Linked DNA regions of Homo sapiens: region 2 is linked to region 1. Evidence: promoter capture Hi-C in 16 types of primary human blood cells and fetal thymus (Javierre and others, 2016). All regions are on one chromosome and are shown on one strand. The core of a region is centred on a gene start or on the middle of the fragment in contact, and the rest is flanking DNA. Distances in the headings are between cores, read along the strand shown.

What was found. Contacts are between HindIII fragments. The CHiCAGO score rates a contact against its expected background, and 5 or more counts as called.
Region 2: a contact is called between the fragment with the promoter of PTPRM here and the fragment with the promoter of ZBTB14 in region 1, in 1 of 17 cell types (erythroblasts). The highest score is 5.6, in erythroblasts.

What each region holds. Positions count from the first base shown.
Region 1 is chr18:5,291,197-5,297,858 of GRCh38, reverse strand. ZBTB14 (zinc finger and BTB domain containing 14) reads left to right here and starts at 2,133. Exons shown (of 4, transcript NM_001243702.2): 1 at 2,133-2,207; 2 at 3,858-3,887; 3 at 4,532-4,615; 4 at 5,655-6,662. The coding sequence starts at 4,613. RefSeq lists enhancers at 925-1,084, 802-1,487, 2,176-2,862, 2,863-3,550 and silencers at 1,295-1,714, 1,795-2,734. The HindIII fragment of the contact is 2,257 bases long and covers 731-2,987 here.
Region 2 is chr18:7,564,009-7,570,213 of GRCh38, reverse strand. It overlaps PTPRM (protein tyrosine phosphatase receptor type M), which reads right to left and starts at 2,898. Exons shown (of 33, transcript NM_001105244.2): 1 at 2,323-2,898. The coding sequence starts at 2,395. RefSeq lists a silencer at 2,848-3,217. The HindIII fragment of the contact is 6,488 bases long and covers 1-5,145 here.

The sequences.
Region 1 (6,662 bases), core at 884-3,383:
AACCCCATATGTGGTATGGGAGAAGGGGGAGCGCCAGCAGCAGATGCGCCATGACTTGAGTACTGGCCGTGTCCACACATTGTGCTAACTGCAGTGGCTGCTTTACTGCTTGGTGACGCAACCCTATGACAGAGTACTATTATTATCCCCCTATAAACACACAGCATCCACAGGATTGAAATGCAACTTCAAGAGCTACGCAAACAAGAATAAAGCGAGTACACGGTATCATGTCTGATGAGTGTGAACTTTCGTGGCAGAAGACTTGGTTCTGGTTCTGTCCAGGCCACTGGAACCCACTATCTGTGGGTGCAGGTGATTTTCCATCATGGAGCTAATACCTTAGCTGGGCATTATTTCACTTAATCCTTACAAGTGCCTTATTAGGTGCTTTCCATAGCTCTCCTTCAGCTGAGGTTTAGAGAAGTTAAACAATTTACCCAATATGTGAACTGGATATGTCTGACTCTACAACCGGTCTCTTCCATCCTATTTCCTCCATATAAGCCGTAACTTGGGTGCTTTTGTGAACATCAAAAAAGATGCGTATAAAGTCGCCTTGGGGAACGTTAAACCAAAGTCAATTAACATTACAAAATCAACTGAGGCCATATAGAACTTCCTTTAGAAAATTAACACATCCAATCATCATATTATTTCCCAAATGTTTACTTAGGTGCCTGTTGCAAGCACTATCTTATGTCATCTTCAATAAGCCCAAGAGGAAGCTTCTGCTCTAATCTTTAGATATTAAATTACGCGTTTCGGGGAAACTTCGCGTGTGAGGTAAAGCAACATGAGCGACTCTAAGGCGGCGCGGCATTGCTGTCCGGCCTCCTGCATCTCGGTGAGCAGAAAACGCGGGAGCGGGAGGGACTTCCCAGCTCCCGACGCCAGACACAGGCACAGCCGCCGCGTCAGAGGGAAGGCGACGTGGTTCAACAGCAACGGAGCCATTACTGGCGCTGAGCAGGGATGTTAAGGACAGAGCCAAGTTATCAGAGCTCTCCGAATCGAGTCCAGGGTCTGGACTGCCACAGACGGGTCGCCGCCTCCAGCCCCTGGACTTTTCCTTGGAGTGTCCGGGCGCGGACCTACTAGCTCCGAAGCCCTATGGGTGATCCCTTTCTGCTGGGCAACTGGGGTTGCGCTTTACACTACAAATCGAAGACGTCGCTTTTTCCATTTGTTCTGCAAGTGTTTATTGTGCACCGTCCACTCCCCCACAAACTCAATGTGCCGGCGGCAAGAGGCAAGACCGCAGACCCGTGGGCGCGCCTCCCGGTGTCGGCCGGTGTGCGCGGAGGGCGAAAGTGGCCGGGGCGCCCGCTCCGAGACGCGGCAGAGCCCCGCAGCCTCAGCGCCCGGCCTGCGCGCGCCCGGGGGAGGCTCTGGCCCACGCACATGCACACGCACGGGAGCGCTGGCTCCCGCGTCCCCGGCGCTGCGCCGGCGCCGGGCGCGGGCGGAAGCCCACGAACCAGGGCGGGAGGGAGCTTGAGGCGGGGCGGGTGTCCGCGAGCAGCGCTCGTGCTTAAGTTCCCTGGCTCCCGAAGCCCCGCCCTTGCCCCGCCCACTCCTTCTCCCGCGCGCGGGCTCCGCGCGCCCCAAGCCGCGCGCGTGCGCGCGCGTGCGCAGGCCAGGGCCCTCCGGGGGCGGCCCCGTAGTCTCCAACGAAAGCGTCGGCAAGGGCCCGGATTAACCCTTTCTTTGCTCGCCCACTTAGAGACCCGGTCGGGTTCCGTGCCTGCGCAAGCCGGCGGCGCGCCTTCCCCCCAGCCCGCACCGCGCATGCACGGGAAGGGGGGGGCGGTGGGGGTGTTCACGGCCGGCTAGACATTCTGTGCTCGTGCAGGAGGAGGGCTGCTACCATCAGGGACGTGCACGATTTCCCCCACCCCGCCCCCTCCCCAAACTCCAAAAAAAAATCCAAAACACACTGCCACCCACCGTGCCCCCGCGCCCCGAGCCCCTCCGGTCCCGGCCTGCGTTTGCTAGCGAGCGCGGGGAACCCACGGCAGTGTCTGTGCCTGTGCCAGGCTGCAGGTAAGCGCGGGCCAGGGTGCGGAAGGGGCTGGGGCCGTCCGCAAGGCGGGCGCGGGGGCGGCCGGCGGCTGGCGGGGCGGCCCGGAAGACGCGCGTTCTCGCCGAGCTCTGGGGCACCAGCCAGCTCCAGGATGTGCGGCGGCCGCCAGCGGCGCGGCGCGGTGCGAGCGGGGACGGGCGTGGGCCAGGGTTGGGCGTGGGGCCGGGGCGCCCCGGGGGCCGCGCGGGCCGGCGAGCGGGCTCGGGGAGCGGCCAGGCGGCGGCGGCCCCGCGCGCGCGCTCGCAGAGCCTCGGCGGCCGAGTTCATGGCCGCCCCCGCTCGCACCGCCGCAGTGCACCGCGGTGGGGGTGGGGACGGCCCGAACCCAGCGCGGAGCGCGGCCCGCCGGGCGCCGCCCCTCCGAGCCGCGGGCCCCGCCGCGCCGCCTACAGCCGCCGGCGGAGGAGGGGGCCGGGACCCAGCGCACGCACTCCCGGGTGCGCCCGCGGAGCTTGGGTTAGCCGGCCGCGCGCCGCCCCCGCCCCCGGCCGCGGGAGGGCGGGGGAGGGCCCGGCGCGAGCTGGCCGGGGAGTGCGCGGGGCGCGAGCTCCGGGCTCGCGGGCGGAGCGGGGCGCGGCGCGGCGCGGGGCTGCGGAGCCGGCCGCACGCCCGCTCCCGCTCGTCGCGCCGCCGGGGCCGCCGCGGGCCGCAGTCCCTCCCTGCGCGCTCCGAGCCGCGGTCCCAAGCCTGCGCTCGACGTCTGATTATGAAAGGGAAAGTGGCCCTTTCACCACCTGGCTCCCAGGCTGGGAGCTTTTGTCTGGGAAGGAGTGCAAACGGCCTCCTCCACTCCCCACCTCCCAGGCCCAAAGAAATTGAGAGGGAGGACTCGATACGCCTTGAGGGCTTCTTGGGTCTGCGCTTGGCTCCCTGCTTCCTCCCGACTCCGAAGTTGCAAGCTTGCAACAAGGAAGTCGTGCAGCCGCCATTGTCGGGCTGCCCGGGGCAGGGGAGGCGGCTGCAGCTGCTTATGTAAGTTTTTGGCTTTGCGGGAAGCCCGGCTCCCTGCACTGTAACGCGGCTTAGCGCGCCCGCAGTTTGGAGAGCAATTAGGAAGGGGCAGCCTTATTATGAAGGTGGTGTTGGGGCTACGTCTTTTCCTACACCTGCCTACACAGATGCTGGCAACAGCTGTCTTCCAGTTTTGACTCACCTGAACTGAGCAATTGGACATCTCAATGGCAAGGGGGGCGGGGCGGGGAGGAGGCGGCTTTGGACACACATGGTCTCTCTTCCAGGTCTCATACATCTTGAGAGAGAGAGGGGAGAGGGGCGAGTGGCCAAGTACACACTAGCCAAAACAACAACAACACATTGATATGTTGTCATAGCTAGTCTAAGGCCACTCCTCTCTCTGGTCCCATGCACTTTTATCCCACAAGCCCTAGGACGAGTTAGTGACAACAGTAGTAAGTGTCACAGTGTAAGGTTTTTGCTGGGCTGCCTAGCCTCTGGATGATTACAGGCCTGGGTGCTTCTAGGGAATAGAGAGGCAGAAACACGTAGAATGATCAAGTCAGAATCATCTTTTGGAAATGTTGCCTAACCTCAAACTTCAGATGAGACATCCCGCTTCTACGCTGGGTAGCTCGGTGTGTTCACTTTTCTTTAGAAGGAGCTTATTATGGGTTTCAAGGTGTTGGTCTCCAGGTTGGAGTCTTGTTCCATGGTTTTTGTGTAAGACTGTTACAGCCCAGTCCTTTGCTCCTACCACACCAAACAACTTATCTGTGTGGTCACTGTTCAGTAGAGGAAACTTTTTGTTTTTCAGGATATGGGTCTGCAGGATGGAGTTCTTCCGGTAAGAGTTAAAACTCACAAAAAAGCTGAAATTCTTTCACCCTTATTGTAGGGATAGAGGTAAAAACACCTGGATTTATCAAATACAATCTTAAAAACAAACGTGTATGCTATTAATACATCACACAGGTGCAGAAAGAAAAAGCAATCATTGTTCCCTCTCCTCCCATGTTACCTGTTGGGTTTATGTACTTCTATAGCTTTATTTGTAAGGTATATACTTCTATAGGTTTGTATGAGCCGAGAGAAAAATGTAGAGGGCTAACATACCCAGCGGGAAATGGGATAGGTGTAGGGGGCACGGTGCACTTGTTTTTTTCTATATCTGTGTAGCCATCAATCTCTGTACAAATATGGACATGAGCTTAGTGTGTGAGGAGAAATCCCTTAATGGTTCTCCAACCCCTCCTTCCAGTTCCTAGGGCACAGCCCCTTTATGCCCGAGTGCTACAGCCCTTATCTGTTCTAGTCCATATCTGTTCAGAACTGCACTTGATGTACCAGCTACCTACCTGCCACTCTCCCCAACCTGAAAATGCACAAAAGAGGGAACAAGAAAGTTTATTTTTAAAAAATCAATTCTTGGTTTAGGATTTGGGATACAGGAAGATCCTACCTCATTCTTGTTTATCCTTTCCTCTGTAGGTCTGGCGTGCTCCTGATCAGAGTTACTCTGATCTGAAGATTTTGGCGTTCAAGGCATTAAGATAATAGCCTGAGTTGTTCATGGTAACTATAACTTTGGATATTAAATCTTGATGAAAATGACTTGGCATTTGCTTTAAAATATATATACCAATTCTGATTGTGCATGAACACTTCTATTTGTCTGGGGGAAAATATTAGCCGAATAAAAGTAAAACAATGTTTTTAAAAAGGAAACATAGAGAATGCTTTAAGATGACCAGTTTTTTAACATGATGACAGAGATCTTTCATGCCAGTTCCAAATTTTTGCTTATAAAATACTCTCAGCACTTATCAAGTACTTACATCTGGTGTTGATGGCACTTTTATCTGGATGCAGGTAGATTGGCATCTAGAGAGAACAAAGCCACTTCCCAAATGTCATCTCATTCTCTTAAGGTCAGATTAAACCTTGACCTTCATTTAGAAGTGGCCCAAAAGTGCTGTGGAAAATCTAGAACACAACACTCAATGGGATATTTTGGCAGTAATGTTCCTCTCTAGTTCTGCAATAGTAATTTGTTCCTTCTGTCAAGGAGGTATAACATAATTATTTTGCTGAATCCTCCATAGAGTAGATGGAATAAGAGTAGGTGCAACAGAGAGGACTAGAGGATTGTTCCCTTGAACCTGTTTCTTAAAACTTGAGTTTGAGTTATTTGATTATCTCTAGTCAGGAAGCACTGGTTTTGCAGCCAGATTGTCTGCATTTAAGTCCCAGCTCTTCACTAAATAGCTATAGAATATTGGGCAGATTTCTAACTTTGTCTCTAAAATAAGGATAGTGATACGTACTCATGAGGTTACCTGAATATTAAATTAATTAAAACATGTAAAGCACATAGAACAATGCCTGGGATATAACTAGGCAAATACTTAGTAAATTGAAGATGAACAGGAGTAACAATATGGAGATCCTTGAGTTGGGATCAGTCTTTTCTACCCATATTCAAAGACCACTCTTAACATTGACTTTCTGAAATTGTTAGGTTCCATAGATTGACCAGGAAATGAAAATGTGACTGTGTTCTCTATATGGAAAAGTACTATTTATAATTACTAAACTTTTTTTTTTTTTGTAGGAGTTTTTCATCAGTATGTCTGAAACCATTAAATATAATGACGATGATCATAAAACTCTGTTTCTGAAAACACTAAATGAACAACGCCTGGAAGGAGAATTTTGTGATATTGCTATTGTGGTTGAGGATGTGAAATTCAGAGCACACAGATGTGTTCTTGCTGCCTGCAGCACTTACTTTAAAAAGCTTTTCAAGAAGCTTGAGGTTGATAGTTCTTCGGTCATAGAAATAGATTTTCTTCGTTCTGATATATTTGAAGAGGTCCTGAACTACATGTACACAGCAAAGATTTCCGTGAAAAAAGAAGATGTTAACTTAATGATGTCATCGGGTCAGATTCTTGGTATCCGATTTTTGGATAAACTGTGTTCTCAGAAGCGTGATGTGTCCAGTCCCGATGAAAACAATGGTCAGTCCAAAAGTAAGTATTGCCTTAAAATAAATCGCCCCATTGGAGATGCTGCTGACACCCAGGATGATGATGTAGAGGAAATCGGGGATCAGGATGACAGTCCTTCTGATGACACAGTAGAAGGCACACCCCCGAGTCAGGAGGACGGCAAGTCGCCCACCACAACGCTCAGGGTTCAGGAAGCGATCCTGAAAGAGCTGGGGAGTGAGGAAGTTCGGAAGGTCAATTGCTACGGCCAGGAAGTAGAATCCATGGAGACCCCAGAATCAAAAGACTTGGGGTCCCAGACCCCTCAAGCCTTAACATTTAATGATGGGATGAGTGAAGTGAAAGATGAACAGACACCAGGCTGGACAACAGCCGCCAGTGACATGAAGTTTGAGTATTTGCTTTATGGTCACCATCGGGAGCAGATTGCCTGCCAGGCGTGTGGGAAGACGTTTTCTGATGAAGGCAGATTGAGGAAGCATGAGAAACTCCACACGGCGGACAGGCCATTTGTTTGTGAAATGTGCACAAAAGGTTTCACCACACAGGCCCACCTGAAAGAACACCTAAAAATCCACACAGGATATAAGCCCTATAGCTGTGAGGTG
Region 2 (6,205 bases), core at 1,649-4,148, 2.3 Mb before region 1:
ATATGGAGAGAAAAATAAATAATGAAGTGAAACATATCTGATCCTTGCACATATGAAATTTGCCATCTTCACTTTTCACTTTTTTTTTGAGACGGATTCTCACTCTGTCACCCAGGCTGGGGTGCAGTGGTGCAATCATAGCTCACTGCAACCTCAAACTCCTGGGCTCAAGCTATCCTCCTGCCTCTGCCTCTAGAGCAGCTGGGACTACAGTCACACGCCACCACACCCAGCTAATCCAATTTTACATTTTTTAAAGTTCAACGTTTCTGAGGCATGGCTTGGATGCTGCCCTTTACCCACTAGCATGCCAGGATAACTCTGGCTTTCTAGATAGAAAAGAAAACACATTTCACTTAATGGTATGATTAACTCAAACAAATAGATATATTTCTTCCAAATGAAAAATCAGGCTAAATTTTAGTAGAAGTCTATTTTGGCTTGACTGATCATTTACATCAGCCTTAACAAGGACATGGGTCAGTACAACTGAGGCTGAAATCCTTTTTGGTGATGAGGAACCCATGGTTTAAATAAGCAATATAAATATTTGTTTCCACTCCCTTGCACACAATTTAAAAATCCATCCAAATGATATTTGACACAGCTTAACTTTAAACAAATCCCAAGAAGGGAGTCATGGATGTTAATAAAGAGAAAACCATCACTAGGGCTCTCATACTTGGCTTCTAATACTAATGAGTTACAAGGCTCTCAAATTCTACTCTATTATTCACTAATAAGAACACAGACCAAATTCTGCATCAGTTTTATAATCAGACGACAGTGCATCATTGTGTTAAATCCTCTGGAGCACGTGCAATTACCAGGCAGTTAGGGAAACACAAAACTTGGAGAAAGGATATTTCTGTATTGAAGTTGATGCTTTGGGTTTCAAAACCTACACGTTCCACTCCTTCTCTGAGGCCAACTGTGATCAAGGGTCCTGCAGATCAGCAACACACAAGACACAACTAATGTGCCTGTGAGTCCAGAGCTCCAGCAGCCAATGGTCCTGGACCCCAAGAAAATAAAAAGGTTTCCACGCACCGGAGGACCAAAGGTTTTTACTGCTTAAAATATGCTCTTTACTGTTTATGAAAGTCCTCTTCATTAAATTCTTAAAAAGCCCAACTTACTCATTCAACTCACTTGTTCCCAAACGCAGAGACCTATTTTGCAAAAACCAAGTTTAAGACCAAAGAGCAGGCTTTTTTATTAAAGAAAAAGAAAGCCCACCGCCCCCACTGCATGTGGACCTTAATGAAACTAATCTAATAAACACTAGAAAGAAGGTGTGCAAATGGGCCAGCATTTGCCGTCTATCCACCTGTGTCACCCAGGTAATAAAGGTCATCCTGGTTGTAAACCCCTGTGACAGCGTGCCGGGTTCGCCCCCACGCCGGACCCCCGACTCCGATCCACAGATCCTCTCCGTGAGGGGTTCCTCTGGGCTTAGAACGCCCCCGCGCGCGCGTGCAGGCACACACGCGCACACACTCACACGCTTGCTCGCACACCGCCAGTGCCTCTCCTTCCCACCTGGGACCCCCGGGCAGCCGGGCTGGATGAACAAGTTGCAGCTGGCCGCGGCGCTCCGCTAGGGGGACGAGGGTGGGGAGGGGGAGCCCAGCGGGGCGCAGGGCCGTGGCCAGGGCCTGGGGACCTGCCCGCTTCCCTCCGCGGCCGCCAAGCCCTACCGCTGGGACCGGCGAGGAACTCCCCCCAGCCTCTCCGCAGACGCTGCACGACCGCGGGGACCTCCCGGGGTCGCCAGCCGCGCCGGGCAGGGGGCGACAGGGAGGGCAGGGCACCGGGAGATCGCCGCCGCCGGAGCGGCCGCCAGTTCCCGGCGATCGCTGCGGGCGCAGCCGAACACCAGCGGCCTGGGCCCGGCCGCTGCTCGGGGTCGGCGGGGACCGCGCAGCGCCTACGCCAGGCGGCCCGGCGGCTGCAACTGGGAACTTCAAGCAAAGTTTTCTGCTGTTCCTTTTGCAGCCGGCCAGGGACTCAAGAGTGCAAGCCGCCCAACCTTGAGCACTAGCCCAGGCCGCGGAAGGACGGCGGCCGAGCTGGCAGTCCCGGCTGGGGAGCTCGCCCTCGGGGTCCGTCCGCTCCGCCCGCCCGAGGACTGGGTGCCTGCCAGCCCCACGGCCCCTCGCCCAGCGCCCGGCTCACAGGCAGAAGCGGTGTCCGGCCCGCCGCGCCCCCCGCCCGGCCCCGACGCCAGCCTTAGGGCTCTACCACCAGGGAGCTGTCGGCGTCCCGGGCGTCCCGCGCCGGCCCGCGCGCCTCGGGGGCGGCAGAGGCGGTCCCGCTTACCTGAGAACGTCTCGCCCGCCGCAGTTAGCAAAAGTCCGGCCAAAGTCGCCAGGCAAGTCCCAAGTCCCCTCATGGTGCTGAGTGCGGGCCGGGCCGCTCCCCGGCGGCGGTGGGTGGGCGCGCGAGGGCGGAGGGGGCCGGGAGCTTTGGTTCCGAGGCAGCGAGGAGAGACGGGTAAACAGCAGAGCGCTAAGCCAAGCCCCCAAAGTGCCAACAGTTGCAGAAGTCCGAACTCCAGCGGCTCCAGGGGCGCGGGCACAGGGTCCTGGGTCCTCCTCCCCTGTCCCTGGCCCCACTCGGCGTCTGGCGCCGCTGGCAGAGGGAGCGGAGGGCGAGCCCGCGGAGCCAAAATCTTCCCTCGGTTCCGGTTGCTGAGCTCGCCGCCTCTCCCCTTCCCCTGCCCGGGACCCGGGACCCGAGCTGCCGGCCGTGGCCGTGGCGGTGGCCGTGGCCGTGGCCGCGCGCGTTCCGCCCGCCGCCTCTCCACAGGCAGCCCCAAGCCCAGCCCCGGGCGGCGGCGCGCCGATGACCGAGCCCGCGCCGGCTGCGCGCGGGGCTCTTGCTCCCCGACTGACTGGCGGTGCCCCGCAGGCCGGCTGAAGGGAGCGCTCACGTCACGGCCGCCCGGCGCCGCCGCGGCCCGCTAGAGGGCGTGAGCGCCCGTGCCCCGCCGGCCCGCGCCCGAGCGCCTCCGGGAGCTCGGCTGGGGGCGGCCCCGCGGCCACAGCCACTACCGCCGCCGAAGCGGGCGTCAGCCGCGCGGGGAGGAGCGGCCACCGGGCTCCCCCCGCCCACCTCCTCGCCCCGGCCGCGTCTTCTATTTTGGTAGCTGGCTCTGGGGAGGGTGACTGTGGAAGAGGCTGCGCCGCCGCCAGAAGTTTGTCCCGGGTCACGAGCCGCGAGTAGTTTGTGAGCGCGGCCGGGCGGGACCAGCGGCCTGCGACCCCGCGGGCGCGGCCAGGCGGCTTCGAGCCTGGCGCCGGACGGCGATGTCACCGCACAGGGCCAGCTGCACCCGGAGTCGCCGGGCCTGCGCTGCTCGGCGGCTGCGGGAAAAGCGAGCCAGGAGATCGCTGAGGCTCCGGAGGGCTGCGAGCTTCTCTACGCCGCGGGCGGAGCGAAGTTGGCGGGCGCCGGGAGATGGCGCGGGAGCCGGGAGCGCCGAGCCCCGCGATCGCCAGCCCGCTCCCGGCCGGGCCCGCCGGGTACACGCCGCTGGCCCCGAGCACTGGCGCCCGGGAAGCAGGGCGCGCTTCTGCTGTTCTGCGTCCTCATCATGCCTCGGTGTCCCGTGTGGGCCCGAAGCGAGCCGCAGGCAGTACACGGAAGGCGGTGGTCACACCAAAACCAGGGTTTGGACATAACCCGTGGTTTCTGTATCTGGTGCAAAGTGCTGAGAAACAGGGGAGAAAGAGAAGTGGGGGGTGAATCAAGTAATGTCTTGAAATATTTTAGTTTTACGATTTTGGGTCTGAGTGAATTAAAAAAACCTTACAATGCTTCAGCAAAAAATAATTTTTTTATTTTAATTGTAAATTTTTTTGTAAGTGATCCTTCTATCTTCCAGGGAATAAGCACATTGAGCCAGCACCAACCAGACAGCTGTAAGCTCCTGGCCTAGCTAACTGAACGCAATAGAAGGCTTGGGAAGAGGTTAAATTAGGAACCAAAGTAACTGAGTGACAGGGTTCTAGCAATGATTCTGGCTAGAAGGCAAACCGGTGATACAGAGGCACCCAGGAGCTCTCCTGCACTTTTTCCGCAAGAGGGGTCCTCTGCTTAGTGCTCACTGCTTTCTAGTGCTTATAAACACGTAAAAAAATAAATGGATTCCACACTCATCTTGACCCTGTTCTCCACTGTACACCAGAACCAAGAAAGATACAGCTGTCATCCTCCCAAGGCAAATTTGGGGACTAGAAGACTTGCCTTTAGTGTGGCAACCAACACTCCTCTTACTTCAGGAAGTCCACTTACTAGATACTTACCAGACCTGCTCTTTAGAAGTCTCTATATTAATCATTTGCTTGTTAATATGAGCTTACATTGTCCTGCCACTTCTCCCAACTATGTGCTTATGGAACCTTATCTTTAATTGTGAAATGAACATTGAAATCTCAGAAAGGAAGCAATGTCTTCAAGATCAGCAAGTGAGGATGGTCAAATCTGCAACCTGGGCTTTCCATTTTGATGTACTTGTGTTCTATACTGCAGTTCAAATTTGCTTTAAAAAAAATTAGTAATAGGCTTTCCAATGGAGTTTTTCTGCTAGTGGGAGGACAGAGGTGGAAGCTAGGGAGACAAAAGTTGATCTAATCACTTTGCTTCAGAGTAACTTCTTTAAATTAGGTGAAGTTAATATTAGGGTAGGATTTCATTTGCAAAGTATTTTATTCTTTCAGCAAATATCTACTGAGTCAATACCATATGTCAGGCACTGTGCTAAGTACTGGAGGTTGTCTTAGGCTGGGCTCCCTCAGAAACAGACCTGGAGGTTAGGATTTAACTATAAGTGGTTTTGAATTGGGGAAGTGATCCCAGAAAGCACTATAAGGAAGGTGAGACAGCAAGACAGAGAAGAAAAAAAAAAGCAGACATCGATATGAGATGTGTCAATAAGCAGGTTACCACTATGGGCAAGGGAAACTCAATCCCCCTGCGGGGGGACGATGAGGAGCTGGATGGAAGAGGAAAGGGCCACTCTACGGACCTGCCACTGAGGCATTAGACAGAAATCCCTGCCAGTACTCCAACTGCTGCTGCCACAGGACTCCTCTTGGTAACCTCTACAAACCCTGTCCCTTCTGCCTGTTACTTAAAGCTTAGTGGGAGGGTCTGTAAATTTCTATTACCCCTGTTCTCTATCTTTACACTGTTAAGTTGACTCTACCCTTTGCAGCCTTCCATCCACATTTCAAAGGGTGGTGGGATTTTTGCCAGCAGCTTCTGCCCTCTCAATTCATGACAACTACTGTTAGTTTACTCCCTCTTACAGGTAACTGGTCAGAGCAGCCTTTGAGCCTAAATGGAAGTCCTCTGCTGAAATGAATGGATTGGACTTCCTCTAAGGAAGGGATGCTGTAGGAATCCTCCCAGTGGGACATTTGCTTTGACTTGTTTTTTCAGCAGTAGAGATTTAGTTTTAACCACATTTCACTCCTGACTCACTGAGGACAATAGTGACATTTGCAGAATGGCTGCTCAGAGTTAGGGGTGCTGTCAGGCCAGCCCCTGACATTGGTAGGCTTGGGCAAGAGTACAAATGCATAGCCACTTACCATATGCCTAATATTTCAAAGTTATTAATTAAGCTAGCAAACTACTATGTATATTCCTACCTTGACACATATAACAATAAAATTGAAATATAAAACCTACAGATTTTATATGACAAAAAGCAAAATATCAGCAACTGAATTATGCATATCTGCTAGACATTATACATATCTAGATTTTCTTTGATAGGCTATATGGATAAGTAATATACATGATTCATATATATTTATTCTATAAAATTGATATTTCTCTTTAGTAAAATCACTGTGTTGTTATAATTGAGATTTTCACTTAATTTGTGTTCCATTGACAGCGGTGATTGAAAGCTTTGCTGTTCTGTATGGTAGCACCTAACAGCATTTCAGGTGTTCTGTTCCTCAGTGACACTAGCTACATTTCAAATGCTCAGTAGCTTCATGTGGCTAGAGCTAATGTATTGTACAACATGGAGAGAAAACAAGTCCATCATCATAGAAAGCACTATTGAACAACATTGATCTAAAAGATTCATCTATTCAGGCCCCATGTGGTGGCTCACACCTGTAATCCCAGCGACTCAAGAGGCAGAGGCCAGAGGATCACTTGAGGCCAGGATTTCTAGACCAGC